7 separate regions of the Homo sapiens genome follow, and regions 1, 2, 3, 5, 6 and 7 are each linked to region 4. The links are contacts of gene promoters, found by promoter capture Hi-C in blood cells and fetal thymus (Javierre and others, 2016). All regions are on one chromosome and are shown on one strand. Each heading gives the region's core, a stretch centred on a gene start or on the middle of the fragment in contact. The rest is flanking DNA. Distances are from core to core; before and after follow the strand shown. Region 1 holds the start of GNB3 (G protein subunit beta 3). Region 2 overlaps CD4 (CD4 molecule). Region 3 holds the start of GPR162 (G protein-coupled receptor 162). Region 4 holds the start of GAPDH (glyceraldehyde-3-phosphate dehydrogenase). Region 5 holds the start of LOC105369632 (a long non-coding RNA gene). Region 6 has its middle 7.3 kb from the start of CD9. Region 7 overlaps CD9 (CD9 molecule).

What was found. The method cuts DNA at HindIII sites, captures the fragments that hold promoters and counts their contacts. A CHiCAGO score of 5 or more calls a contact.
Region 1: the fragment with the promoter of GNB3 here is called in contact with the fragment with the promoter of GAPDH in region 4 in 10 of 17 cell types (activated CD4 T cells, naive CD4 T cells, erythroblasts and 7 more); the score reaches 11.1 in activated CD4 T cells.
Region 2: a contact is called between a fragment that was not itself captured here and the fragment with the promoter of GAPDH in region 4, in 11 of 17 cell types (monocytes, non-activated CD4 T cells, activated CD4 T cells and 8 more). The highest score is 13.6, in monocytes.
Region 3: a contact is called between the fragment with the promoter of GPR162 here and the fragment with the promoter of GAPDH in region 4, in 8 of 17 cell types (naive CD4 T cells, total CD4 T cells, non-activated CD4 T cells and 5 more). The highest score is 8.7, in naive CD4 T cells.
Region 5: a fragment that was not itself captured here is called in contact with the fragment with the promoter of GAPDH in region 4 in 3 of 17 cell types (activated CD4 T cells, non-activated CD4 T cells and naive CD4 T cells); the score reaches 8.3 in activated CD4 T cells.
Region 6: a fragment that was not itself captured here is called in contact with the fragment with the promoter of GAPDH in region 4 in 4 of 17 cell types (fetal thymus, total B cells, total CD4 T cells and 1 more); the score reaches 5.6 in fetal thymus.
Region 7: a contact is called between a fragment that was not itself captured here and the fragment with the promoter of GAPDH in region 4, in 1 of 17 cell types (total CD8 T cells). The highest score is 5.3, in total CD8 T cells.

Annotation. Positions count from the first base shown.
Region 1 is chr12:6,838,949-6,843,046 of GRCh38, reverse strand. GNB3 (G protein subunit beta 3) reads right to left here and starts at 2,122. Exons shown (of 10, transcript NM_002075.4): 1 at 2,014-2,122; 2 at 1,703-1,789; 3 at 1,423-1,461; 4 at 1-77. The coding sequence starts at 1,759. P3H3 (prolyl 3-hydroxylase 3) reads right to left here. Exons shown (of 15, transcript NM_014262.5): 14 at 3,907-4,047; 15 at 3,200-3,750. The coding sequence ends at 3,586. The HindIII fragment of the contact is 12,557 bases long and covers 1-4,098 here.
Region 2 is chr12:6,796,502-6,800,516 of GRCh38, reverse strand. CD4 (CD4 molecule) reads right to left here. Exons shown (of 10, transcript NM_000616.5): 2 at 330-445; 3 at 46-210. The coding sequence starts at 378. Among named protein-coding and RNA genes, the nearest start is that of CD4, 9.0 kb to the right of the region's middle. The HindIII fragment of the contact is 2,728 bases long and covers 1,186-3,913 here.
Region 3 is chr12:6,820,273-6,823,879 of GRCh38, reverse strand. GPR162 (G protein-coupled receptor 162) reads right to left here and starts at 2,059. Exons shown (of 5, transcript NM_019858.2): 1 at 1,980-2,059; 2 at 1-412. It overlaps CD4 (CD4 molecule), which reads right to left. Exons shown (of 10, transcript NM_000616.5): 10 at 3,081-3,607. RefSeq lists an enhancer at 2,076-3,048. The HindIII fragment of the contact is 21,739 bases long and covers 1-3,607 here.
Region 4 is chr12:6,533,245-6,537,029 of GRCh38, reverse strand. It overlaps GAPDH (glyceraldehyde-3-phosphate dehydrogenase), which reads right to left and starts at 2,513. Exons shown (of 9, transcript NM_002046.7): 1 at 2,461-2,513; 2 at 2,169-2,220; 3 at 437-536; 4 at 240-346; 5 at 20-110. The coding sequence starts at 2,197. It overlaps GAPDH-DT (GAPDH divergent transcript), which reads left to right and starts at 2,623. Exons shown (of 2, transcript XR_002957397.2): 1 at 2,623-3,566. RefSeq lists enhancers at 1-411, 1,960-2,733, 2,734-3,507, 3,508-3,785 and silencers at 2,222-2,361, 3,082-3,331. The HindIII fragment of the contact is 4,237 bases long and covers 824-3,785 here.
Region 5 is chr12:6,885,254-6,889,406 of GRCh38, reverse strand. LOC105369632 (a long non-coding RNA gene) reads left to right here and starts at 49. Exons shown (of 4, transcript NR_135083.1): 1 at 49-101. It also overlaps the pseudogene DSTNP2. RefSeq lists an enhancer at 2,706-3,253. The HindIII fragment of the contact is 1,590 bases long and covers 2,102-3,691 here.
Region 6 is chr12:6,191,079-6,195,129 of GRCh38, reverse strand. No RefSeq gene overlaps it. Among named protein-coding and RNA genes, the nearest start is that of CD9, 7.3 kb to the left of the region's middle. RefSeq lists a silencer at 985-1,034 and enhancers at 3,362-4,047, 4,048-4,051. The HindIII fragment of the contact is 5,273 bases long and covers 1-4,051 here.
Region 7 is chr12:6,226,579-6,230,143 of GRCh38, reverse strand. All of the region lies in intron 2 of CD9 (CD9 molecule), which reads right to left. The region is part of intron 4 of LOC105369625 (a long non-coding RNA gene); the gene reads left to right. Among named protein-coding and RNA genes, the nearest start is that of CD9, 28 kb to the right of the region's middle. The HindIII fragment of the contact is 2,363 bases long and covers 126-2,488 here.

The DNA of each region.
Region 1 (4,098 bases), core at 873-3,372, 310 kb before region 4:
ATCTTGGCCAGGTGTCCCCTTAACGTCCGCCGCGTCCGCATCTGGACTCGTCCCACCACCTCTAGGCCAGACACCAGCTGCAGAGAGAGGGGCACTGAATATCAGGGTGAGCAGGTTACGTGCCCAGATGTCTGTCACTGCCACTGATCTATACAAGTTCCCGCTCTGTGCCAGGCTCTAGGTCAGGCCCCCAGCCTTAGAGAAATAAGTCTCTGCCCTGGAGTGTCTTAGACTGATGTGGGAAAGAGATGCATGCATGGCCAGAGGTGTGTTGCTTGTAAGTGTTTAACAAGCACCTCTCCAGTGTTGGTGAGGAAGGTGGGAAGGTGATTTCCACGATACGAATACTTGCACTTTGACCAGTTTCCAGCTGCCAATGTGAGGTCATTGGAAACAGATTTGGGAAGAGATGCACAGAGCTGGCTCTCCCAAGCCGAGAGGAGCCTGCTTGCACCCACCGCTGCAGCACGGCTAGCTTTTTAACTGGGTGCCTGGGGCATCACCATGACCCTGAACTGTACCTCCTGAAATCTGTGGTACTATGCCCCTTGAGCTCTAACCACATTTTAGACTTAGGCTGGGGGTCCAGAGTGAACAGACTTGATTTGCCATCACTTGCATTGCTATCTTTTTTTAAAAAGTTAAAAGCAATTTTTTTTATATTAAGAAGAGATCTCACTATGTTGCCCAGGCTGGTCTCAAACTCCTGAGCTCAAGTGATCCTTTCACGTCAGTCTCCCAAAGGGCTGGGATTACAGGCGTGAACCACTGCGCCCGGCCTGCTTTGTTATCTTGGGCAAGTTGCTTCACCTCCCTGAGTCTGTTTACTCAAGGTGTAAAATGAGGCTTATCATAGCACCTACCTTACAGAGATATCATGAAAATTCAATGAAATCAGGTATTTATGCAGCTTAGCCCAGTATCTGGCTCATAAAAAGTGTTCACTATTAACATATTTAATCCAATCTAAGATGCATCACTAAGAAAGAAAAGATGCTGTCAATTCTAATTGAAACAATGATCCATTGCTGAATGCACCTTGATTTCAGAGATGTCAAAATGTGAAGAAATGTGCATCTTAGAATTGACAAAATACAGCATAGAAAACTAGCAGCTAGAGTCTACAAGGGCTTTATAATTTACAAAGTACTATCGCTTCTTCATCTTCAAGGCCCTGGGAGGGGGCTGTGGTCACTCTTGTTCTACGGATGAGAATAGGAACCGTGTCCGCATCTTTCGCATCCAATATGGTGCCTGGCTCAGAGCAGGTCCCGCTAAAATGTTGGTCGAATGAATTAATTAATGGGTTTCCTCACTCCAAGGACGTGCTGTACTAATGCTCGGAGCAACGCGCTATTGCGGGTCGGGGAGCTCCCTTCCCCTCCCCCCATGCCCTGCCTTCCGGGGGACAGGGGGTCTTACCTCTGCCAGAGTAACGTCAGCACAGGCTTTCCTGGCATCCTGCAGGGAAAGCAGACATCAGGGGAGCAAGGGCGAGGTGGGGGTGGCAGGTGCATGGGCCTTCAGGGCAGGTTGGTCTTGGGGCTCTGGGGCTTGGGGGTCTCAAATATGCGAACCAAGTTTAGAAAGTCCCTGGTCACTTCTAGTCACTCAAGAGCAAACCCAGCCCCCTCCCCCTGGGCCACGCTCCTCATGTCCCCAGCTGTTTTCTGGGGCCCCAGGGGTAGGGCTCTGGAGTTACTGCAATCTGCTTCTTGAGCTGCTCCGCTTCCTGACGCAGTTGCTCCATCTCCCCCATGGCTGACAGGTCGAGGGGTCACTCTGGCTCCTGCCAGGAACATGGGGTCGGTGTTGAGGAACCCCCCACCAGGCTGTGCTTCTGCCCTTCGTGCCCACACCAGACTCCAAGACACAGGGAAACGACTGGGTGGCTGCACCCTCTCCCCAGCTAGGCCCTCCAAGTTTGAGGTCCTTTGCGTCCAGCCCCAGCCTGCCTGAGCCCTGCCTGCGCCCCAGCCCAGGAGAGCAGAGCCCAGGCCAGCTCCCTCTTACTTGGGCTCTGGCTGGACCTCGGCCGGGTTTCCAGCTCCGGTTCCTGGGAGCCTCCTTACTCCCTCAGCTGCGACGCCCGCGCCCGCCCGTCACCTGCCCAGGCTCTGCTGCCAGAGGAGCTGGCCTGGCCTGGCCTGGCCCCGACCGGCGGGGGGTTGGGGGGGCCTGACAGGGAAGGGTAGAGCCAACCACAACGTCAGGCAAATGAAATCAGCTGGCAGGGGTGGGGGGAAGGGGTGGGGGGAGGGAGGGAGGTGTACGGATTCCAGAGAGACTTGGGCCCAGCCGGGAGGAGGGTTGGGGGCAGGAGTGTGGGGCCATAGAGAGGGGCAGCCCCCACCACAAGCCCTGAGAGAGGAGGGGGTGAAGGGGTGCTTCCCTGGTCAGTCTCTGCAGGCAGAGATAAGAGCATCAGGCCCCACAGGATTAGAGCAAAGCTGTGAGGATTAAGGGTTGGGGTTTGGGAGGGGTGCAAAGGAGCAGACAACTACAGCTCCAGTGGCCCCCCTGGTCCCGGCCCCCATCCATGGTGATGATCTTGGCAGTCAGGGCCACTTAGCAACCAGGCCAGGAGGTGGGATATAAGGGTGATAGATGGCCCCATTGTCAGTACCTCAAACTGTGCTCCTCAGCTCAGGGTGGTGGGGAAGAGGGTTTGGTGAGTATGGGAGGGTACAGGCAGGAGCTGAGATTAGAAAGGACTGATCTGGATAATCCTTCTTCTCGACAAACCCCAACCAGCTGCCTCTGGGTCTGATCCTGTTGGGGGAGAAAGGTACAGGGGACCCACAGAGAAGGATGGACAGGTCTGCCCCTATTGTGGGCGGGCAACGGATTTCAAGTGGAGGGAAGGCCCGCACGCTGCTCCCAGGCTGGGGTCTGGCCCCCTCCTTGCCCTCTCGAGGCTGTGAAAGCAGGGGTCAGAGAGAAAGCAGGCGGCCCTAAGTCTCAGCAAAGCTCAGAGAGGGAAGACAGGGCTTACACTTGGAGGCCTAAGGAGCAGCTGCCAGGGGCTTGGGTCATTTGCATGAGGGGAGCAGGTGGCTGAGATTTCCCTGACAAATCACAGGCTCCAGGCGCCCCGCCTCTGGGAGGCCCAAAGACACCTGTCTCCTCCCAGGCCAGCCAGAGCCACCCCCACCTCCAGCCATCACAGAATCTGTGATACACTTGACTGGCCCCTGGCTGAGAGATCTTCACGACCTTTATTGCACAGACTGGGAGAGAGGAGCAGGGTTATACCTCCCAACCCCACCATCCTCTTCATTTAAAGCATCAGCCTCCTCCCCTGCCATTTCTGTTCAGGGAGGCACAGTGTTCCCCATCTGTCCAGGGCTGCAGGTCCGGCAGCGGGGCCCCGTCCCAGCTCCCCAGGCCTGGTGAGCTCCAGGCTAGCCTGTGCACTGTCCTCTGAGTCCAGGCCCTTGTAGGTCCCCAAGATGGTGGGGGTGCAGGGACAGAGAGCTTGCTGTTCTGCTCCTGATGTCACACAGGGGCTTCCTGTGTGTCCTGGCATCAAGATGGCCTTCCACAAGTCAAGTGGCCACATCCTCAAGGAGCTGGCTCAGCCACTCACAGCTCCTCCCGAACCCGAGGTGCCCTTCCAGTCTTGTCTTGGACCCTCTGGTGCCTGCGGCTAGGGGGCTCTGGGGAAGGGTCTTTGCTGGGCATTTCTTCCTCTTCCTCTTCCTCCTCCTCCTGTGACTCCTGCAGCAGTTCTTTGGCTTCTATCCACTCCTGGGGTTGGGGAGGAGAGTGTGGCCCATTCCCTGCACCCACCTTCCCTGGGTCAGCTCAGCCCCTGACCCTCACCGACTGTGAGCCTTCTCGGGGGCTCCTTGCCCACCCTTCACGCACCAGGAGAACCACATCCCTTCCTACCCCGCTCCTTACCTGCTCCCTGTGCTCAGGTGCCCACGTGTGCCACAGTGCCAGGGCACAGCGCCGTCCCCGAGTCACGGCCCACACCCCATGGGGATTCTCGACACCGGAGCTGAAGGCCACAAGGCGCCCACAGCGAGGACGCACCCGAGCCTGGAGGGATGAGGGCAGGTTCAGCTCCAGGGATTGGCTCTCTCAGAGAAC
Region 2 (4,015 bases), core at 1,300-3,799, 260 kb before region 4:
CCATAGTGTGTTTTCCTCCCTGGATGGGGAGCCAGGCAACCCTACCTTTAGTTAAGAAGGAGCCCTGATTTCCCAGAATCTTTATCTGGTTGGAGTTTTTCCAGTGGAATTGTATGCTCTTCTTCTGGGAAGCTGTACAGGTCAGTTCCACTGTATCCCCTTTTTTGCCCAGCACCACTTTCTTTCCCTGAGTGGCTGCTGGGAGGAGCGCTAAGTGGAAAAGAAAGGAGTCAGGTCTCAATGTCGCCGCTGTCCCCCTCTACCCCATCCTCCACCTTTGCCTTTCCTCCCACGTCATCTGCATTGAGACCCCAGGTCTGAGAACTTACCCAGTTGCAGCACCAGAAGCAAGTGCCTAAAAGGGACTCCCCGGTTCATTGTGGCCTTGCCGAGGGAGGCAGGGGCCTGAGCCAGTAGGGACCTGAGCCCACAGAAATGGCAGGGCCTGAGGGAAATGCCAATCATTAGTCAGCAAACATTTACTGGACCTGGAGTATACAGGGGCGATACACAACCTCTCCCTCAGGACCCTTGCAGCCAGCCTAGTGAACTTGAGGCAGGAGAATAGCAGAGGGAATTGGAGGTTGGATTAAGGAAGGAATGAGTAGGAGCAGAAGCAAGAGAAAGAGGCAGGTGAGCAAAAACAGAAGATAAATAAGTGAATAAGGAGCCCCATGGCTGGCTAGATCCAAACCAAACCAGTTAGGAGCAGCTCCTAAGAGATGGGCATATACTAGGCTGGGTGCGGTGGCTCATGCCTGTAATCCCAGTGCTTTGGGAGGCCGAGGTGGGTGGATCACTTGCGGTCAGGAGTTCGAGATCAGCCTGGCCAACATGGTGAAACCCCATCTCTACTAAAAATACAAAAATTAGCCGGGCGTGGTGGCATGCACCTGTAGTCTCAGGTGCTTAGGAAGCTGAGGCAGGAGAATCACTTGAACCAGGGAGGAGGAGGTTGCAGTGAGCCAAGATTGCACCACTGCAAAAAAAGATGCACATGTACTACAGAGAAAAGATATCCTCAAAATGACCCCGTATAGTAATTAGCTACTTAAGGTTCATGCCTACAGAGTGCATATCATGCATGTACTTAAAACTATGGGAAGGAAATGACACGTAAACACACAGAGGCCAAGAAACTAAGCAACCCACCTGTCAACCAAAAGGCACATGCTGGCTAAAGCTTAGGCAGCTTGAGGAAAAAGAGAAAAAAAACACATAGAAAAGGCCATGAAATATAGCAAAGTGATGCTGATACCATTCGCAGGTCATCCTTGATCCATAGTGGATCGTACTGTGCTTAATAAACTTTTGCTGCTTTGCTATTTGTGTGTGTCATGTCCAATTTTTTGTTTGCGGCACCAACAACTTGGGACTTCACAACATCAGCCAGTAACAAAGTAAACTTGCACACCCCTAACTGGATGCTCTGAGATACACACCACGAAATGCTATGCTCAGGCCAGGAGGGGGTTCTTTGCTGGGATGAGTGAGGAGGGGATCAGAAAAGGATGCATGGAGAAGGTGGCAAATTGGCGGGGAGACCATGGAGCCAGGCCAGGACGTGGAAATGCTTGAAGGCCGTGCTGAGATGCTGGGACTGGATCCTGGGCACTAGAGAGCCAGCAGAGGATTTTCTATAGAGAAGAAGATTATTAGATTTGCCACGTGGACCCCTGCAGCTGCTGAGTGAAAGAACTGGAGGAGGCGAGGCACCAAAGGCAGAACTGCAACCATCCTGGTCAGCAAAGGGCCTGAGCCAAGTGGCTGTAGAAATGTGTGGGACAGTTCTAAGGTGACGTTCCCAAGAATTGGGGCCTGATACAGCGTGAGAGGTATGGGGAAAAGAAAGAGAGATCAGATTGTTACTGTGTCTATGTAGAAAAAGGAAGACATAAGAAACTCCATTTTGATCTGTACTAAGAAAAATTGTTCTGCTTTGAGATGCTGTTAATCTGTAACTTTTGTCCCAACCCTGTGCTCACAAAAACATGTCCTGTATTGAATCAAGGTTTAATGGATCTAGGGCTGCGCAAGATGCACTTTTAAAAAGTTCTTGCCTCACACGTGTAATCCCAGCATTTTGGGAGGCCAAGGCGGGCGGATCATGAGGTCAGGAGATCGAGACCATCCTGGTGAACACGGTGAAACCCCATCTCTACTAAAAAAATACAAAAAAATTAGCCGGGCGTGGTGGCGGGCGCCTGTAGTCCCAGCTACTCGGGAGGCTGAGGCAGGAGAATGGCGTGAACCCGGGAGGCAGAGGTGGCAGTGAGCCGAGATCGCGCCACTGCACTCCAGCCTGGGCGACAGAGCAAGACTCTGTCTCAAAAAAAAAAAAAAAGAAAAGTTCTTGCAGGCAGTGTGCTTGGTGAAAGTCATCACCATTCTCCGTTCTCTATTAACCAGAGACACAATACACTGTGGAAGGCCGCAGGAACCCCTGCCCGAGAAAGCCTAGGTATTGTCCAGGTTTCCCCCCACTGAGACAGCCTGAGATATGGCCTCATGGGAAGGGAAAGACCTTACAGCCCCCCAGCCCGACACCCGTAAAGGGTCTGTGCTGAGGAGGATTAGTGAAGGAGGAAGGCCTCTATTCGGTTGAGATAAGAGGAAGGCATCTGTCTCCTGCTCGTCCCTGGGAATGGAATGACCCGGTGTAAAACCGATCATACATTCTATTTTGAGAGAGGAGAAAACTGCCTTATGTCTGGAGGCGAGACATCATGGCGGCAATACTGCTCTGTTACTCTTTACTACACTGAGATGTTTGTGTAAAGTTAAACATAAATCTAGCACATCCAGGCACAGCACCTTTCCTTAAACTTATTTATGACACAGAGTCTTTGCTCATATGTTTTTCTGCTGACCCTCTCCTCACCTTCACCCTATAGCCCCACCACATTCCCCTCGCGGAGATAGTAAAGATAGTGATCAATAAATACTGAGGGAACTCAGAGACCAGCACCGGTGCAGGTCCTCACTTGCTGAGCGCCGGTCCCCTGGGCCCACTTTTATTCCTCTATACTTTCTCTGTGTCTTATTTCTTTTCTCAGTCTCTTGTCTCCACCTTGCGAGAAATACCCACAGGTGTGGAGGGGCAGGCCCCCTTCAGAGAGGTCAGGGGAGAAAGAGCAGAGGGCCATTTCTCTGTCCAATATCAGACCAACCCTACAAGGCCTCTGAGTGGGCCAAGCAGAAGGCGTTGGTCCAGGGTTTGGATGAAGGAGAGTTTCCTGTGCGCTTGGCAGACAGGCGAGACTGGGGGTGGTGGGGGCAGGGCAGAGAGGCTCTGAATGGACCATGGGGAATGGACAGCTGTAGATTAGAGGAGCGATTCCCAAAGTCCTGGATCAGTAGCAGCGGCAACATGACCTGGGAACTTGTTAGAAATGCAGATCCTCGGCCCCACCCCAGACCTGCTGAATCAGAAACTGGGGGTGGGTCTAGTCATCTGGGTTTTCACAAATCTCCAGGTAACTGATCACGCTCAAGTTTGAAAACCATAAGTTAGATGGAGAGGAAAGGGGAGAGGTGTCCCCATTCTGAGGTGTGCAAAGGTGGTAGGGATGTGCGAGGAGGCTTCGGAGGAAAGAGAGGGCTCAGGGAGGTGATGGTGGAAGAAGGTATGGGAAAAGCCTTTGAGGCTTGACTGTAAATCTTTTTATTTTTAGTTTAGATCCACTCTGTCACCCAGGCCAGAGTGCAGTGGTTCAATCATAGGTCATTGCAGCCTGGAACTCCTGGGCTCAAGTGATCCTTTCATGACAACACCCAGCTAATTTGTGCAGGCAGTGATTGCAAATATTGACAGGCAGGTCGAAGAGCTGGAGCTTTGTCCTGGAGGTGAGGGGACCCACTGCTGATTTTTTGGTAAAGATGTGGCATGGTCTGTGTGGAGCTTCGGGAAGCTTGATGTGGTAACTGGGGACCAGATGACATGGGACTGGAGCAGTGATTATAGGAAAGGCACCAAGATAGCACCTCAAAGGAAGGCTGGAGCAGGGCTCAAGTG
Region 3 (3,607 bases), core at 810-3,309, 290 kb before region 4:
CCCCTTGAGCTCTGTGGGGGTGGGGGCTAGGTCTCACCCAGGAGCCCCACTCACAAACACTCCCATGATCCCCACAATCCTCGCCCTGTCAGCAGGCAGGCTGCCCCCAGGCTCACCCCAGTGCTCAGCATTGCATGATGGACCCAGCTGAGGGCAGATGTAGAGGGCAGGGGAGGAGACTGAGGGTCAGCAGAGGCAATCCTCAGCTTTCATACTGGGCGGGGCCTTCCTTAAGCATCCCTGCAATTGATGGGGCAGGCAAGCTGGCTACTTTCCCAACTATGAGGCTGGCTGGGGGGTTCTGGTCCCCATGCTGGGACTTCCAGGTCTCTTTTGCCTCTGGTTCTTGACCAGTCAGGAATCTTCTGGATGCCCCAGGGATTTGGGGGTGGGGCTCAGCCCCCTGGACAGGCTGCAAGGGAAAGATGAGATGTGGGAGGGAGAGGGCAAAGGTAGGGCCTGGGCTGGTCTCCAATCAGCCTCCTGTGCCCCCTTTCTTGAAACTATAGGCATGACTGATTACTAAGGCCCTGAGGGTCATTCAGAACATTCCTTTGCCTTAACTCTGACAGCTAAACACCCCACACAGATGAGAGCCGCACTCTTCCAGACCTCTAGGGAAGAAGGTATTCCCACCTCCCTGTCTCCTTTAGCCCTTCCTCCTCCCGCTGGAACTCCCAGGTTCCTTCTTAGAACATCCCCTGCTCAGCACTACTCCACCCCTATCTTCAAGTCCCTAAATGTCTCTTCAGAACTACTGATGGGAGACACAAGACTGGTTTCCTCTTGAGGGTTCACAGTGAACTGGGATATGGCATCACAGCCTTCCTCCCCTACCTGCCGGTCTCCTGGATGCAGGGGTCTTGGTGCTTAGCCCCTACTTCCCCAAACCTGGGTGATCACCCTCCAGCTACCCATATCTGGGAAAATGGGAGAAAGGAGTCTGGGACCGAAGGGGGTGCTAGGGAACCTGAAGGCGGGGAAACCGCTGACATCAGAAGCATCCAGAAATGGAAAGAGGGGGAACTAGGGAGAAGGAGGAGAGTTTGAGCAGAAGAGAAAGAGGGGGCAAAGTGGTAGTATCTGAAAATAGCAGGAAAAGCTCAAACCCCCTGGAGAGGAGGCTTTGGAGGGAGGAGGGACTGGAGGAGGGAGGGAGGGAGGGAGCAGGGAATAGGAGGCTGAGAAGAAAAGCCAAATGTTCAATAAGGTGCTGACTCCCCGTGGGGAGACCTTGACTCTTCCTCCCTGGCCCAGAGCCTCAGTTTCCCTCTCATGGGAGGAAGGATGGTCCCAGTTTTAGTGCGTGATGCTGAGCTTCAGTGAGCCCTGGGAAGGGGGGTAAGGGAATCGGGTGAAACCCTGAACAGAGTGGGGCTGTAAGGAAGCACATAATGGCTTTAGGGTAAGTGGGGTAAAAATGGGGCACAGCAGTGAAAGGGTCTGTTTCCCATGGAAGCAGCTCAGACCCTTGCTTTCCCCAAGAGGTCCTGGTCCACCCCCACCCTTGGCTTCCCTCCGGAGCCCAGTACACCCTAGTTGCCATGGCAATGGCCAGCCAGAGGGAGGTGGAGGGACTTGGCCAAGAGCAGCCCCCAGTGTCCTCTCCTACAGCCCTGGACCCCTTCCCACCCACCTCCACCCAGGCCCAGCTGGTGGGCTCAGGATGAAAGAGATAGGGAGTCAGAGAGGGAAGGAGGCAGGAAAGATGTGAAGGACAGAGAGAGGGAGGTGAAGGACAGGGAGAGATCAGAGGAAGGTGGGAAGGGGGATCTGGGAGGTTCCCTGGCCGACGGGGTCCCTCGCCCTTTGGGGTGAAGGGGTAAGGTCAGGCGGCTCCTCCCTCCTGTCCCCCTCCAGGTTCTCCAGGGCAGAAACAGCAGGTGGCTGGGGAGGAGGGGCCGGCCTAGGGGAGAGGAGGCAGCTTGAGGGGGAAAGGGAGGCAACACAGGGGACGGGGCAGGCAGGGGTCGTCTTACCTCTCTCCGGCTGCGCCCAGCACTGCCATGGAGACCGCACTCCCGACGCGGCTCTCTCGGGCTCCCGCTGCCTGCCGGCTCCAGCTCGCCCGCCCTCCTCCCTCCTTCCCTCTCTCCCTCCCTCCCTTCCCCCGGGCCTCCCTCCTCCCCCTCAGTCCCGGCCTCCCAGGCTCAGCCCACGGCTCACTCGGTCTCTGCCCCTCTCACTCTCCAGGACCCTCTCTCCCGGGGTCGTCCTGCCAGTGAGCCCAGGCCAGAGGGAAGGCAGGACAGCTTTGTGGGGGGCGGGGGGGGGCGGGAAACGAGTGCAGGGTGGGGAACTGGACGGTGGTGACTCGGGGAGGAGGGGCAAGGAAGGCGCTGAGAGGGAGGGCGGTGAGGAGGATGGCTGGGAACCGGCTTCATTGGTGAAATGGTTCATGTCCTGCCCCCACCCCTTCCCGTTTTCAACACGAACACAAGCTCCAAGAGGCAGCTGGTGTTGTTGGGGACTGAGGAGCTAGCTGTTCGGGGAGGAGGAAGCGTGTGTCACTGTGTGTATCTGTGTGAGGGCTGGGCCTTGGGTTTGGGAGTGAGGGGGCTTGTGGTGCACACTGGGGCTGCTTGTGGAGTTGGGGGTGGTTGTGCACAAGCTAAAAGGATGTGGGCGCATGCATGCACACAGACACACACACTCTGCCTCCTCCTCCTGGAACACAAACACATATGTTGGGGATACAATTTGCACACACATGTTACAGTTTCTCATAGTCCTTTTTCTCTGCCACACACATACACCAGGAGAGCTCACACAACCCTGAGTCTCTCCCCCACGGTATATCACACACATGTAATTACAGAGTCTCAGCCTCACACACACACAGGCCCACACAGAGCCCTGTGGGTTGTGGAGGTGGGTAGCCAGCCTCCACAGAATTTTTCCCTCTCCAGGGAAACTTCATCTCCTTCCTGGGGCACGCCCAGCAACCTCTCCTCTGGGTCCGACCCCAAAGACCAGAAGATTCCTGGTCCCCAGAGAAGGGGTCTCTCTCTCTCTCTCTCTCTCACACACACACACACACACACACACACACACACACACACACGAAGAGCATCTTTATAGTAAGTTTATTGTATTTTTATTTCAGCTCAGGGGAGCAGGGGTGGAGAGTGGGCACAAATGCAAAGTAAGCAAATGGGGAGCCCCAGCAGCAATAGGGGGGTCTTCCTGGAAGAGGCAGGCTTTAAAGACAGGAGGAGAAGGAAATAGGGAAAAGGAGTTGGGACTGAGGGAAGTGGTGAGGAAGGGTAGGAAGAGAGGGGATCCTGAGAGAAGTGGATCAAGAAGATTTGTAACCCTGATTTCCCTGTGTCCTGAATGGTCTGGAGGAGGGTAAGGGAGGGTGTGGGGCAGGCGCAGAGCCTGGCACAATCACCTTTGAGGTCCCTTAGAGGGTTCCCTCTCAGGCTAGCTACCCCCTCTCCCAGCAAAGCTCGCTTCCAGGAGGTTCTGCACAGGGTCAGTGACTGGTCACTGGGCATTCTCTCCTGCAGTGCCTGTGCTCCCAGCTTGCGCTCTGATTAGAAGAGCCAAAGGCTTTGTCCTCTGGTAACAGATTCTGCCACCAGCGGGGGATGAAGGAGGGATT
Region 4 (3,785 bases), core at 1,264-3,763:
CGGGCCCTCCTGCACTCACCCCAGCCTTCTCCATGGTGGTGAAGACGCCAGTGGACTCCACGACGTACTCAGCGCCAGCATCGCCCCACTTGATTTTGGAGGGATCTCGCCTATGGGGGTGGGGGGGAGATGGGGACAGGACCATATTGAGGGACACAAGGTTACCATATACCCAAGGGAGCCACACCATCCTAGTTGCCTCCCCAAAGCACATTTCTTCCATTCTGTCTTCCACTCACTCCTGGAAGATGGTGATGGGATTTCCATTGATGACAAGCTTCCCGTTCTCAGCCTTGACGGTGCCATGGAATTTGCCATGGGTGGAATCATATTGGAACATGTAAACCTGGGGGAATACGTGAGGGTATGAAGGGGCTGCCCATCAGCCAGGTGGCTCCTCCCACACCAGCTTTGGGGCTCACCATGTAGCACTCACCATGTAGTTGAGGTCAATGAAGGGGTCATTGATGGCAACAATATCCACTTTACCAGAGTTAAAAGCAGCCCTGGTGACCAGGCGCCCAATACGACCAAATCTAAGAGACAAGAGGCAAGAAGGCATGAGGAGGGGAGGCTCCTCCAGAATATGTGAGCAGCCCTAGGCCACCTCCCCATTAAGAGGGCGAATGCAGCATCTCCTTACCCCCAGGAGGGCCCAAGAGGTTGAATTTTATCTCCCTTGAGCTTCCCTGCCAGGCTGGCCTGGCTTAAGGCATGGCTGCAACTGAAGGCTCCAGGGCTGCCCAACACCCCCAGTCATACGAAGCCCTTCCAGGAGAAGCGGCCATGTGGGGCACTGCCACCCACAGTCTGGGCACAAGCTTTGTACATGGTATTCACCACCCCACTATGCCACCCCAGGAATGCTTGCTGCTGCCTAGCTCAGCTGCACCCTTTAGGGAGAAAACGCTTGTACACTCAGCATCATCAAACTCAAAGGGCAGGAGTAAAGGTCAGAAATTAACTGGACAGGGCAAGCCCACCCCTTCTCTAAGTCCCTCCTACAAAAGGGACAGAGACTGGGGCGGGTGGGAAGAGGGGAAGCTGTATTTTAACCCCCTAGTCCCAGGGCTTTGATTTGCCAAGTTGCCTGTCCTTCCTAGCTCTTTTCCAGAAATCAGGAGTGGGAGCACAGGTAAGTGCATGTGTGTGGGGAGAAGGGATGGGAGAGAGCCCCAGCCCAGGCCCCCAGCTACAGAAAGGTCAGCAGCTATATTTAACCTCAGACCAGGGTGCGGTGGGAGATCTGGTTTCCGGAAGACGGAATGGGGAGAAGGGCAGGTTCCCCGAGGCGCCCAGACACCCAATCCTCCCGGTGACATTTACAGCCTGGCCTTTGGGGTCGGGTCAACGCTAGGCTGGCAGGGGAAGGGCGGGGCCGTGAGGTGAGCCGGCGCTGCAGGAAGGGGCCACCACCAGAGGGGCCATTTTGCGGTGGAAATGTCCTTTTCCAACTACCCATGACTCAGCTTCTCCCGGCTTGGCACCATGCCACAGCCACCACACCTCTGCGGGGAGGGGACACAAGAGGACCTCCATAAACCCACTTCTTTGATTTACCAGAGAATAATCTAGGAAAAGCATCACCCGGAGGAGAAATCGGGCCAGCTAGCCTCGCTCCACCTGACTTCCCCGCCACACGCGACTCCACCCATCGAGGCAGGAGCGCAGGGTTAGTCACCGGCAGGCTTTCCTAACGGCTGCCCATTCATTTCCTTCCCGGTTGCAACATGGCGGCCGCTCTACCGCAGGCGCAGCATCCGGACAGGGATGCACCCGCTGCGCACTAGCATCCCGGGGCCTGCGGTGCCGGAGGCCGTGGGGGAGGGGCTCCTCTGCGACACGTGACCCCGCAGAGCGCGAAAGGAAAGAAAGCGTCCCCCACCTAGGGGTCCGGGTCGGGATCTCGGGCGGGAGTAGGGACCTCCTGTTTCTGGGGACTAGGGGAAGGAGGCTCCGGGCAGATGGCGCCGCAAGGGCGGAGCTGCACAGGGCGCCACAGCCTGGGTGCGGGGCTCCGCCAGGTCCGAGCGCTGACCTTGAGCTCTCCTTGCGGGGAACAGCTACCCTGCCCCCATACGACTGCAAAGACCCGGAGCCCGCAAGGCTCGTAGACGCGGTTCGGGGGCGGTCGCAGCCCAGGGCCCCCCAGCCACCCGCGAACTCACCCGTTGACTCCGACCTTCACCTTCCCCATGGTGTCTGAGCGATGTGGCTCGGCTGCGCGGAGGGAGAGAACAGTGAGCGCCTAGTGGCCCCGGCCGACACACACGCCTCCCCTCCCCTCCCCCACCAGGCCTCCATGCCCAGCCCGCGCCGCATCACGTCCTCCGCCCGCCCCTGCAATGCGGAGGCCGCCCGGGCCCACCCCGCAGCGGCGCGAACACATCCGGCCTGCGCCCGCCCCTGCCGCCTTCAGGCCGTCCCTAGCCTCCCGGGTTTCTCTCCGCCCGTCTTCACCTGGCGACGCAAAAGAAGATGCGGCTGACTGTCGAACAGGAGGAGCAGAGAGCGAAGCGGGAGGCTGCGGGCTCAATTTATAGAAACCGGGGGCGCGGCGGCAGGCGGTGACTCGGACCCCGCCTCCCGCCAGGCTCAGCCAGTCCCAGCCCAAGGTCTTGAGGCCTGAGCTACGTGCGCCCGTAAAACCGCTAGTAGCCGGGCCCTACTTTCTCCCCGCTTTTTTTTTTCCGCAGCCGCCTGGTTCAACTGGGCACGCACCGAGCGTGTGGGCCCCGACGTAGGGGGGAAGGGACTGAGATTGGCCCGATGGGAGGTGATCGGTGCTGGTTCCCAGGACTGGACTGTGGGCAGCAGGACACTAGGGAGTCAAGGACGGGGACCCTTACACGCTTGGATGAAACAGGAGGACTTTGGGAACGACTGAGATGGGGAATTGGAGCCGGAGCCCAGCACCGCTCGCGGCTGCACGCGGCCTGCCCCCTCCCCTTTCTTTCTTTCAAAGGCTGAGAGGCGGGAAAGTTGGGGAACTTCTCCTCGAGGCTCTGCGGTAGTGACACCGGACTGCTCAGGCAAAGGCCTAGGAGGGGCCCATGGGCCTCGGGCGGGGGCCCGTGGTTCCTTCCCAGCCCCCACTTCCCCCTCCCCATCTCCTGGCTCCTGGCATCTCTGGGACCGAGGCCTGGGCTGGGCACTGGGCACTGGGCACTGGGGGCCTGGAGAGGAAGGAGGCTCGGGAGGCGGCTTGAGGGGGAGGGGGAGGTTTCTGCACGGAAGGTCACGATGTCCTGCAGCCCTGTAGCCTGGACCTGATAATTAGGGCAGACAATCCCGGCCCTGTGTGCACCAGCGGCTCTCTCCGGGCTGGGGCCCCAGGCGGAGGACAGGATGGCTGGTGGGGGCCCAGAGGCCTCCCACAAAGGCACTCCTGGAAACCTGTGGGCTGTGCTGCCTAGGGAGAGAGACAGTGTGCCTTTCATTCCATCCAGCCTGGGGCGAAGAGCGGGACGTGAGGGCGGAAGTCCCTCCCCGCCCTGGGACGTGCAGGCGAGCCAGGAGCCAGGGACTCCCTTTCACTGGCTGCGCCGGGGGATATTGAGGGCAGGGTGAGTCAAGAAGAGGGAAAAAGTGGGAAAAGAGGTCTTGGGCACACGGTGGGAACAGGTCCCCTGCCCCCTCCCACAGGGGATCCATTCTTCTGGTAGGAGGGCAGAGGGCCAGGTTTGTGAGTGTGGGATGGGAGGGTGCTGAACACTTGTAAGGAAGGGGGTGGGGTGGGGTGGCCTTGGCCCATCAGCAGGTGCATGGGAGGGGGATCCCGGGCC
Region 5 (4,153 bases), core at 1,647-4,146, 350 kb before region 4:
AGATCGTGCCACTGCACTGCAGCCTGGACAACAGCGCAAGACTCCATCTCAAAAAAAAGAAAAATTACTGGTGAAAAGGCCATCTTCCAGAATACCATGAGGTTAGTGGTTGCTATCTTCTGGGGAAAGATGCCCAACTGCATTTAATATTTCCAAACTAGAAACACAAGGCCCTGGTTTGAAAGCAACTCATGATCTTCTGAATGCTATTCCCCTCCACCCTTTGCCCTTGCCCCCAAGTGCAGGGGCAGTGTAGTTCTACAGGGCTGTCATTCTACAAATCCTGGTGCCCTTTAAAAAAAAAAACAAAACAAACAAACAAAAAACGGCGGTACGGTGGCTCACACCTGTAATCCCAGCCTTTGGGAGGCTGAGATGGGCAGAGCACTTGAGGTCAGGAGTTCAAGACAGCCTGGCCAACACAGTGAAACCCCATCTCTATTAAAAATACAAAAATTAGCCAGGCATGGTGGCACACCCCTGTAATCCCAGCTACTCGGGAGGCTGAGACAGAATTGCTTGAACCTGGGAGGGAGAGTTTGCAGTGAGCAGAGATTGAGCCACTTTACTCCAGCCGCGGCTGCAGAGCGAGACTGTCAAAAAAAACAAACAAACAAAAACCTGCCTGTGCTCTAGCAATCAAATGCAAAGTCCTGGGTGACTGTAGTACTTTCCCTGATTCAGTTTCAAATATCTTCATTCTAGAAGTCAAGCAGGACCTCAAAGAGAAAAAATCTGGCTTTGTGCTGCAGGACACAACAATACCACACTGATGTACCACACACTTTATGAATGTGCTCATAAAGGCGCTGAATGAAGGTTTCCTGTCCCAACATGACTCCATCCTTCACTCTGCTGATCTAAGCATTATTTGCTGTTTCAAAGCCACATACATTAGGCTGAGATTCTCCCTTGACTCCCAGAGCCATGGATGCTGACCCTAATCTTAATGTGGTAAAGATCTGGAAGTCCTTCCATATTGCTAGTTGCATCATTTCTATTTAAACAGGCAATGGGAGGCCAGGTGTGGTGTCTCACGCCTGTAATCCCAGCACTTTGGGAGGCTGCAGATCTCTTGAGTCCAAGAGTTCAAGACCAGCCTGGGCAACATGGCAAGACCTCATCTCTGCAGAAAATTAGCTGAACGTGGTGGTGTGCACCTGTAGTCCCAGCTACTCAGGAGGTGCAGGCAGGAGGATCACCTGTGCCTGGGAAAGTTGAGGCTGCAGTGAGCCATGCTCATGCTACTGCACTCCAGCCTGGGTGATACAGCAAGACCCTGTCTCAATAAATAAATAAATAAACAAACAAACAAACAAACAGGTAATGGAAGCAACGAAGCCTGACAGTCAATGCATGTGGAATGTGTTCAGAATTTTAAGGGTTTCTTTCTCTTTTTTTTTTTTGTTTTTTGTGTTTTGAGACAGAGTCTTGCTCTGTTGCCCAGACGGGAATGCAGTGGTGTGATCTCAGCTCACTGCAACCTCCACCTCCCATGTTCAAGCAATTCTCCTGCCTCACCTTCCCAAGTAGCTGGGATTACAGGCATGTGCCACCATGCCTGGCTAATTTTTGTATTATTAGTAGAGATATTATTTTACATTATTAGTATTATTTCACCATGTTGGCCTGGCTGGTCTTGAACTCCTGACCTCAACTGATACACCCACCTCGGCCTCCTAAAGTGCTGGGATTACAGGCGTGAGCACCGCGCCTGGCCAAGGGTTTCTATTGACAAAGAAGTGAAACTCATTGTGCAAGTCGCCTAGCAAGTGGATCGTGATGGCTTTGTTTATACATCATTGAGGAAGAAAGTAAAGAACTTCTTGGCCTGGCCAGGTATGGTGGCTCATGCCAGTAATCCCAGCACTTTGAGGGACTGAAGCCGAGGATCCCTTGATCATGGCTCAAGGTGACAGTGAGCTACTTCGCCACTGCACTCCAGCCTGTGTGACAGAGTAAGACCCAGTCTCTAAAATATAAGGAAATAATCATAAAAATAAAGAAGTTTTTGAGAGCCACAGAGAAACACTAATAAAAAATCTTGAGGAACTGATAAAAATCACCCTCAGGAGAAAAAGGAAAAGACCAAACTAAAGCTTCATAAATTTACTGAAGTGTTTCATGCTGCAAAATGTCTGAATAATTTTTTTTTTGCATTATTCCTGATATATTACAAGTCCTCAACAGGGCTTTATTTTTTTTCTTTTCTTTTCTTTTCTTTTTTTTTTTTGAGACAGAGTCTTGCTCTGTGGCCCAGGCTGGAGTTCAGTGGCACAATCTCGGCTCACTGCAACCTCTGCCTCCCAGGGTCAAGCAATTCTCCTGCCTCAGCCTCCCTCGTAGCCAGGACTACAGGCACACGCCGCCATGCCTGGCTAATTTTTTGTATATTTAAAGTAGAGATGGGGTTTCACCGTGATGCCCAGGCTGGTCTTGGACTCCTGAGCTCAAACAATCCACCCACTTTCGCCTCCCAAAGTGCTAGAACTACAGGCGTGAGCACCGCGCCTGGCTATTTTCTTTTTTCTTTTCTTTTCTTTTCTTTTTTTTTTTTAAAAAAACAACTTTAGACTTTAGATATATGTGGGGAAAAGCAAAAGAGATCAGATTGTTACTGTGTCTGTGTAGAAAGAAGTAGACATAGGAGACTCCATTTTGTTCTGTACTAAGAAAAATTCTTCTGCCTTGAGATTCTGTTAATCTATAACCTTACCCCCAACCCCGTGCTCTCTGAAACATGTGCTGTGTCAACTCAGAGTTAAATGGATTAAGGGCGGTGCAAGATGTGCTTTGTTAAACAGATGCTTGAAGGCAGCATGCTCCTTAAGAGTCATCACCACTCCCTAATCTCAAGTACCCAGGGACACAAACACTGCGGAAGTCCGCAGGGACCTCTGCCTAGGAAAGCCAGGTATTGTCCAAGGTTTCTCCCCATATGATAGTCTGAAATATGGCCTCGTGGGAAGGGAAAGACCTGACCATCCCCCATCCCGACACCCGTAAAGGTTCTGTGCTGAGGAGGATTAGTAAAAGAGGAAGGAATGCCTCTTGCAGTTGAGACAAGAGGAAGGCATCTGTCACCTGCCTGTCCCTGGGCAATGGAATGTCTTGGTATAAAACCCGATTGTATGCTCCATCTACTGAGATAGGGAAAAACCGCCTTAGGGCTGGAGGTGGGACCTGCGGGCAGCAATACTGCTTTGTAAAGCATTGAGATGTTTATGTGTATGCATATCTAAAAGCACAGCACTTAATCCTTTACATTGTCTATGATGCAAAGACCTTTGTTCACGTGTTTGTCTGCTGACCCTCTCCCCACAATTGTCTTGTGACCCTGACACATCCCCCTCTTCGAGAAACACCCACAAATGATTAATAAATACTAAGGGAACTCAGAGGCTGGCAGGATCCTCCATATGCTGAACGCTGCTTCCCCGGGTCCCCTTATTTCTTTCTCTATACTTTGTGTCTTTTTCTTTCCCAAGTCTCTCGTCCCACCTTACGAGAAACACCCACAGGTGTGGAGGGGCAACCCACCCCTACAGATATATTTAGGGCTGTTTGCATATGTTTATAGAGTATTTAGTTTACTCTAAAAGATGACAAGACAGCTCCCCTCAGTGAGACCCTGGCCTAAATATATTTGCTTTATTTATATAGCAAGAGGATAACATTAAACGTGGAAGCTTTCAATTTGTGGCACTGAATGATGATCTACACAGGGCATCCTTCAAAGGCTACAATTAAGGATCCACTGGCCAGGCATGCTGGCTCACGCCTGTAATCCCAGCACTTTGGGAGGCCAAGGAGGGCAAATCACGAGGTCAGGAGTTCGAGACCAGCCTGACCAATATGGTGAAACCCTGACTCTACTAAGAATACAAAAATTAGCCAGGTGTGGTGGCGCACGCTATAATCCCAGCTACTCAGGAGGCTGGGCAGGAAAATCACTTGAACCCGGGAGGCAGAGGTTGCAGTGAGCCGAGATCCTGTCACTGCACTCCAGCCTGGGCGACAGATCAAGACTCCATCTCAAAAAAAAAAAAAAAGGATCCACCTAACTTTTCAGCAGTACAAGCCCGATTGAGATCTTCTGGTCCGTTTGTTTGCCATTCATGTTTTATGCCTTGAAATTTCTTTTTGATTGCAT
Region 6 (4,051 bases), core at 860-3,359, 340 kb after region 4:
TTGAATTACAGGTGTGCGCTGCCATGCCCGGCTAATAATTTTTTTTTTTTTAGACGGAGTCTCGCTTTGTCACCCAGGCTGGAGTGCAGTGGCACGATCTTGGCTCACTGCAACCTCTGCCTCCCGGGTTCAAGTGATTCTTCTGCCTCAGCCTCCCAAGTAGCTGGGACTACAGGCGCACACCACCATGCCCAGCTAATTTTTGTATTTTTAGTAGAGACGGGGTTTCACCATATTGGCCAGGCTGGTCTTGAACTCCTGAATTCGTTATCTACCCACCTCAGCCTCCCAAAGTGCTGGGATTACAGGCGTAAGCCACCGTGTTTTTTATATTTTTTATATTTTTTATATTTTTAGTAGAGATGGGGTTTCCTCCTGTTGGTCAGGCTGGTCTTGAACTCCTGGCCCCAGGTGATCCGCCCACCTCAGCCTCCCAAAGTGCTGGGATTACAGGCGTGCGCCACCGTGCCTGGCCCGTTTCCACTTCTAACGGCCCTCCAAATAGGCCCACGTTCCAATCCCCAAAACTGTGAATGTGTTACTTTCCATGGCATAGCCTGGACCATCCCAGTGGGCCCAGTGGAATCCAAAGGGTTCTTATAAGAGACAGGTGGAAGTGTCAAAGCCAGGGAAGGAGATGTGACGACAGAAGCAGAGGTCGCAGTGATGCACAGCTGTGTGTTGGGGAACAAGGACAGCCTCTAGAAGCTGGAGAAGGCGAAGAAACGAATTCTCCCCTGCAGCTGCCAGAGGGATCCAACACAGCCCTGCCCACCCATTTTAGATTTCAGACCTCTAGAATTGTGAAATAGTAAATATGTGTTACTTTAAGCCACTAAATTTGTGGTTGTTACCGAAGCAATAGGAAATATAGTAATCTCAATGTAAACATCAAGATCAGAATTCATAATCTCCAAGGGCTTTCTAGGCTCGCAGCTGACTTTCTCCTCAGCCCTCCCTGTCTCTAATCAGTCAGCACCAACACCTCCCATCACCTGGGGCTCCTCCTTCCCCCAGCCTCACAGCTGCTTAGTGAATGTGATTCCTGTTTCTTAGCTGTTCTTACGTCATTGCTGGGAGGCACCAGGGCTAAGGCGGGTTGTAGTGATTGAGTGGCAGAGCACAGATCAGACCTCAGAGCTTCTGGTTTCAGTCCAGGGTTGGATCCTGATCTTTTGTTCCCCCTGATGCCCTGCCATCCGCAAGGGGGCTGCATCCTGGAAGCTCATCTGCAGCCCAAACGGCTGTTCTACCCTTGCCCTGCCTCGCTGCTGTTCACCTGCCCAGGATGGACACAACATTGGACCCAGAGAGTCTTGCTGCGTGCGTCCTTGGGGGTGGGCTGCCCTCCTCTCACCCATCACTTCTTTTCCTTGCATTAAGCACACACACACTCAACCTGGAAACTGCCTATGTCCAGTGTGGATTTTATGAAGGTTTCACGGATAGGTGGATGAGGGGTTCCCTCTCATATGCCAGAGAGAACCATTCTAAGAATCCCTCTGGATAGCTCTTCTCAAACGTCCAATCTGTGGCAGCCACCCCTATCATCTGCCCCCCAGCCCAGCCTCAGCCAGCCCCCTGCCCTGTGGATGTCCTCTGCATATGTCTGTGTGGAGCAATTTAGCTCTAAACTTGGCATTTTCCGTTTGTGTCCCCACCTCCCCTCACCCTGCTCAGCAAAACAAATCATGGCTCTCAGGGTCTGTCCTCCTTAGTATATGGGGGTTGGGGGCAGGCGGGGAGCAATTCTAAACAAGCAATATTTAATATCATCCTTTCATCAGACTCCTGAAGCTCAGCTTTACTCTTTCCTGCTCAAAGATCTCCCAACTCCCCTTACCCCTGTTCTACTTCCAAACAATGCTCCCATAGCATTTACCTTCTCACAGAGTGGAATGTTTCCTTGGTATGTGCATTGCTATTTACCTGTCTCCTCCAGCTAGAATGCAAAATCCGCATGGCTGTTCTGTTCTCTATGTATCCCAAGGGCTTTGAACAGTGCCTGACATACAGTAGGTGCACAATATTTATTGAATGTATGGAAAGCCGATGTCTCAATTGTAAGATCATCATACAGGCCCTCTGCTCTCTCGCCTTAACCTCTGTTTGCAAATCTGTTCACTCTTTTGGAATACCACATGCATCCCCAGCTCTATGCCTGGGTCCCCACCTCTTCTTTCCGAAGCCCAAGCTCTTGGCACTTCCTCCTTTCTGCCCTTCAAGCAGCCTGCACCATCTCTGAGGCCAGCCCAGCCCCTGCCTTCCCCAGCACCCTCAGTCATCTTAGTCTGCTCTGATCCTCTTTCTCAGGACACTCCTGTAGCAACTTCTTTCTGAATCATCCACTAGACTCTTACAAGATTTGTCCTGGGTGATAATTTCAGGTTTCATGCATCTGTTTAAAAGAGTTGGCTGGGCGGCCGGGCGCGGTGGCTCACGCCTATCATCTCAGCACTGTGGGAGGCTGAGGCGGGCGGATCACGAGGTCAGGAGATCGAGATCATCCTGGCTAACACAGTGAAACCCTGTCTCTACTAAAAATACAAAAAATTAGCCAGGCGTGGTGGCGGGCGCCTGTAGTCCCAGCTACTAGGGAGGCTGAGGCAGGAGAATGGCGTGAACCCGGGAGGCAGAGCTTGCAGTGAGCTGAGATCACACCGCTGCACTCCAGCCTGGGCGACAGAGCGAGACTCCGTCTCAGAAAAAAAAAAAAAAAAAAGATTAGCTGAGCGTGGTGGCAGGTGCCTGTAATCCCAGCTACTCAGGAGGCTGAGGCAGGAGAATCGCCTGAACCCAGGAAGCGGAGGTTGCAGTGAGCTGAGACTGCGCCACTGCACTCCAGCCTGGTGAGAGTGAGACTCCGTCTAAAAAAAAAAAGATTAGCTGGGCATGATGGCGGGTGTGGGGAAAAGAGAGATCAGATTGTTACTGTGTCTATGTAGAAAGAAGTAGACATAGGAGACTCCATTTTGTTCTGTACTAAGAAAAATTCTTCTGCCTTGAGATGCTGTTAATCTCAATGTCAAACTCAGGGTTAAATGGATTAAGGGCGGTGCAAGATGTGCTTTGTTAAACAGATGCTTGAAGGCAGCATGCTCCTTAAGAGTCATCACCACTCCCTAATCTCAAGTACCCAGGGACACAAACACTGCGGAAGGCCACAGGGACCTCTGCCTAGGAAAGCCAGGTGTTGTCCAAGGTTTCTCCCCATGTGACAGTCTGAAATATGGCCTCGTGGGAAGGGAAAGACCTGACTGTCCCCCAGCCCGACACCCGTAAAGGGTCTGTGCTGAGGAGGATTAGTAAAAGAGGAAGGAACACCTTTCTGCAGTTGAGACAAGAGGAAGGTGGGCAATGGAATGTCTCGGTGTAAAACCCGATTGTATATTCCATCTACTGAGATAGGGGAAAACCGCCTTAGGGCTGGAGGTGGGACATGCGGGCAGCAATACTGCTCTGTAAGGCATTGAGATGTTTATGTGTATGCATATCTAAAGCACAGCACTTAATTCTTTACCTTGTTCATGATGCAGAGACCTTTGTTCACGTGTTTATCTGCTGACCTTCTCTCCACTATTATCCTATGACCCTGACACATCCCCCTCTCCGAGAAACACCCAAGAATGATCAATAAATACTAAGGGAACTCAGAGGCTGGCGGGATCCTCCGTATGCTGAACGCTGGTCCCCTTGAGAGGTGACAGCGTGCTGGCAGTCCTCACAGCCCTCGCTCACTCTGGGGGCCTCCTCTGCCTGGGCTCCCACTTTGGCGGCATTTGAGGAGCCCTTCAGCCCGCCGCTGCACTATGGGAGCCCCTTTCTGGGCTGGCCAAGGCCGGAGCCGGCTCCTTCAGCTTGCAGGGAGGTGTGGAGGGAGAGGCGCGAGCGGGAACCGGGGCTGTGAGCGGCGCTTGCGGGCCAGCTGGAGTTCCAGGTGGGCGTGGGCTTGGCGGGCCCCGCACTCAGAGCAGCCGGCCCGCCCTGCGGGCCCCGGGCAATGAGGGGCTTAGCACCCGGGCCGGCGGCTGCGGAGGGTGTACTGGGTCTC
Region 7 (3,565 bases), core at 58-2,557, 310 kb after region 4:
GGACAGCTCATCTGGAAGCAGGCCCCATGGAAGTCACGGAACCACTGCAGGGCTCGGGCTGGTTTTTACAAGGGCTATTCAGTGCTTCCCTTTGGAGAAGCTACTCATCGCTTACACCCCAAGCTTGTTAGCCAAGGCTGCTGTTGATAAATGACAAAGTGTTCCCCTTTATAAAACAAGCGAATGTTAGCTTGCTGTCTGACTCATGGAAAAAGTTATCCATCACAGAGCCTTCTCTAGGATTACGGTATTAATTTGCTTAAGGGTTGTTTATTCTGCTTTTTTCAGGCTGACATTACAGGCCCAGAAAAAAAAAAAAAAAAGAAAGGCTGGTGTAGCAGCAGTAGCATATGCCAGCGTGTCCTTTACACAAGAAATGGAACAGTGTTTTTCACTGTTCACCAGGGCTCTCAGTTTAGCCCAGGGAGAGGACACAGCAGGCTCCCGTCCCTACACCAGCTCTGTCCTGCAAACAGCACTCACCACGCCCGTTTGTGTGAAGGAGAACAAAATCCGGTAGGGCCTCTGGCCTGCAATAAAAGTTTATTATATCCAAATAACTCCACCAGGTGTTCAAAGGAGCCCTACCTCTGCCCCGACTGGTTTCGTCTTGGTTCCCGCCCTCCCGAGTTCACGGGAATAAGTGCCACAATGGAATTCCATTTGCCACACGCTGTACTTCTTTGCCCCAGAGGGGAGTGGGTGTGTAAGCTGTGCTGTGGTTGTGTAAGCTGTGCTGGTTTCAGGAGGGAGAAAAATGAAGCCCAGAGCAATAAAATGAACTGCCCCAGGTCACAAGCCAGGATGGGGATGCCAGCTTACTAAGGCCAAGTGTCGCGTGTCCTGAAAATCACCAGGCACCTCATCATGGATAGGGGGCTGGCCGAGGAAGGGGGGGCATTCACGGCCTCTGGCTGGAGCCCCCCTAGATGCCCTCATTCAGCAGCCATGGTTCTGGAGGGACACCAGGGAGCTGGGAAAGGCTGCTGGCCTAGGACCAAGAAAATGAAGTTCCCCAACAAGTTTGCAGCCTGGGATTAGGGATCTTGCTGACGGGCTGAATCTCCAGGCCTGGATTGGAGAGAAGGCCCATATAAGGCTGTCAGCTGCTCTGGACTTACCATAGACTGTTCTGAATGTTGGAAAGGTTTTCACTTGCTTTTCTGCCTGGTTATATACTCTTTCTCTACTTGGTAAGCTGTGGCCCCACTGGAGAAAAGACACCCCTGGGCTGTTCAGGTTTCCTGAAAAGTCAGCTGCATGGTCAGGCTGGCCTGTGGGTTGCTCTGCAGACAGTTGGTGGCCCAGTGCAAGGGGCGGTCACCCCATGACTATTCCTTGGAAAAGTAGCCAGGGTGTGGCTGGCACTCCAAGCTCATCTGCTAGGAGAAGGGCTCTGGGCCAGTACAGAAGGCTGGTCTCACAGCCTCGTGGGGAAGGGGACACAGAGCGACGCCTCCTTGGCCCTTTGCCCATGGACGACAATTATTATTTCCTAAAGCGTTCAGTGACGTTCAGGGCATAGCTCAGACCTAAGCAGTGCTCAGAGTGCTGTGCTGCTGTTTTTTTTTTTTTTTTTTTTTTTGAGATGGAGTCCCGCTCTGTCTCCCAGGCTGGAGACAGAGCCTCAGTGGTGTGATCTCAGCTCTCTGCAACCTCTGCCTCCCAGGTTCAAGAGATTCTTGTGCCTCAGCCTCCCGAGTAGCTGGGATTATAGGTGCACGCCACTACGCCCAGCTAATTTTTGTATTTTTAGTAGAAGTGGGGTTTTGCCATGTTGGCCAGGCTGGTGTCGAACTCCTGACCTCGGGTGATCTGCCTGCCTCGGCCTCCCAAAGTGCTAGAGGCTGAGGCGGACGGATCACCTGAGATCAGGGCTGATCACTGTGCCCAGACACAGTGCTGCTGTTCTAACTTTACCGTGCATCATCCCCCTTGCCGGCGCTTCTGCAGGCAGAACGAAGTCTTCAAAGCTCCGCTCTCTTCCCCGAATGGGGTGTCGCTGCAAAGGATCTGTATTTCCCTGGCAGAGCTAAGTGGACAGTGGCCCTTAGACCCCAACTAGGGGATCTGTGTCTCTTTGGGGTTGTGCCTTCAAATCACCCTCCTGGTCACTTCAGGTAGGACCACCGGCCACCAGCAGGGCCCTGCAATGACCTGCAGGATCTGAATCCTGTGAGGTTCCCAGAGGTGAGCCCCAGCTCCTCTAATGGCACTCACCATTCTCCTGCCACCCTGCAGCTTTCCCACCTGTCAGCTGCTGGCTGGGCCACCGACGCAGGGGTTTCTCTCCCTGACTGCAATTTGGGTGAAGTAAAAGGGCCAAGACAGCGCCACCCCATCCCTGCCAATGGGGCACATTCAGCCAGTACAGACCTCTTCCATTCCTACAGAGGGAGACCCCACAACCTGGCAATGACAACCCGAGAAGCAGCTCTTTTAGGCCTGGGTTCAAAACCTGGCCCTGCCTCTTGAGGGAATATAAGCTTAGACAAGTTATTTCAGCTCTCTAGGCCTCGGTTTCTGCACTTGTGAGATGAGAATCACTCCACACTCCTCGTAGAGCTAAGGGGATTAAATTATATAATACACACAAGACAATGAATGACACACAAAGAAGGGGGCTCAAAAATGTTAGTGTCTTCCAGCCGGGCGAGGTGGCTCACGCCTGTCATCCCATCACTTCGGGAAGCCAAGACGGGAGGATCACCTGAGGTCGGGAGTTGGAGACGAGCCTGACCAACATGGAGAAACCCCGTCTGTACTAAAAATACAAAATCAGCTGGGCATGGTGGCACATGCCTGTAATCCCAGCTACTCAGGAGGCTGAGGCAGGAGAATCGCTTGAACCTGGGAGGCAGAGGTTGCGGTGAGCCGAGATTGTGTCATTGCACTCCAGCCTGGGCAACAAGATTGAAACTTCGTCTCAAAAAAAAAATAAAAAAAATAAAAAATAAAAATGTTAGTGTCTTCCTCCCAGTTCCATCCTCTTACCCATGAGATTCTTAACTCCCACATCTAAAAATATAAAGAATCAGCCATAGAGGCTTTGGGTAACAGAAAAGAAAAAGTGGGTTGTTAGAAGCAGCCAGGACAAGGGAGGACTGAGTCTCTCTTTGGAGACACACGCGCCGGCCACAGGGCTTTTGCTTAGGAAAGCAGGCCTGACTGTGCCTGCTCCTGCCGGCAGACCTGCTCCCCCAGCACAGGGCTCCCTTCTGGAACACGGCGTGGAGTGTGGAGAGTCTTCCCCAGCACCCGCACCCGGCTCCTCCCTCCTGCTCTGCAGGACAGCATTCTAAGCCTGTCACAGACTCCCAAAAAATGGTCTGTTGCCAAAACAAGTCAGGGCGCTATAGAAACCTGTTCCCCAAAAACTCTGTGTGTATGTGTAGTTTTTTTTCTAAACATACATTGTGCTTTCTCTCACTTTCTTTCCGATAATAGAGAGACACACCCCAAAAAACCCCAGCTAACAATAAAAAGCAGTAAACCCAGCAAAACTATCCACAGGGCTCAAATGTTACGCAACCAAAGGAGCTGTTTTTAAAGACTCTCCCTACCC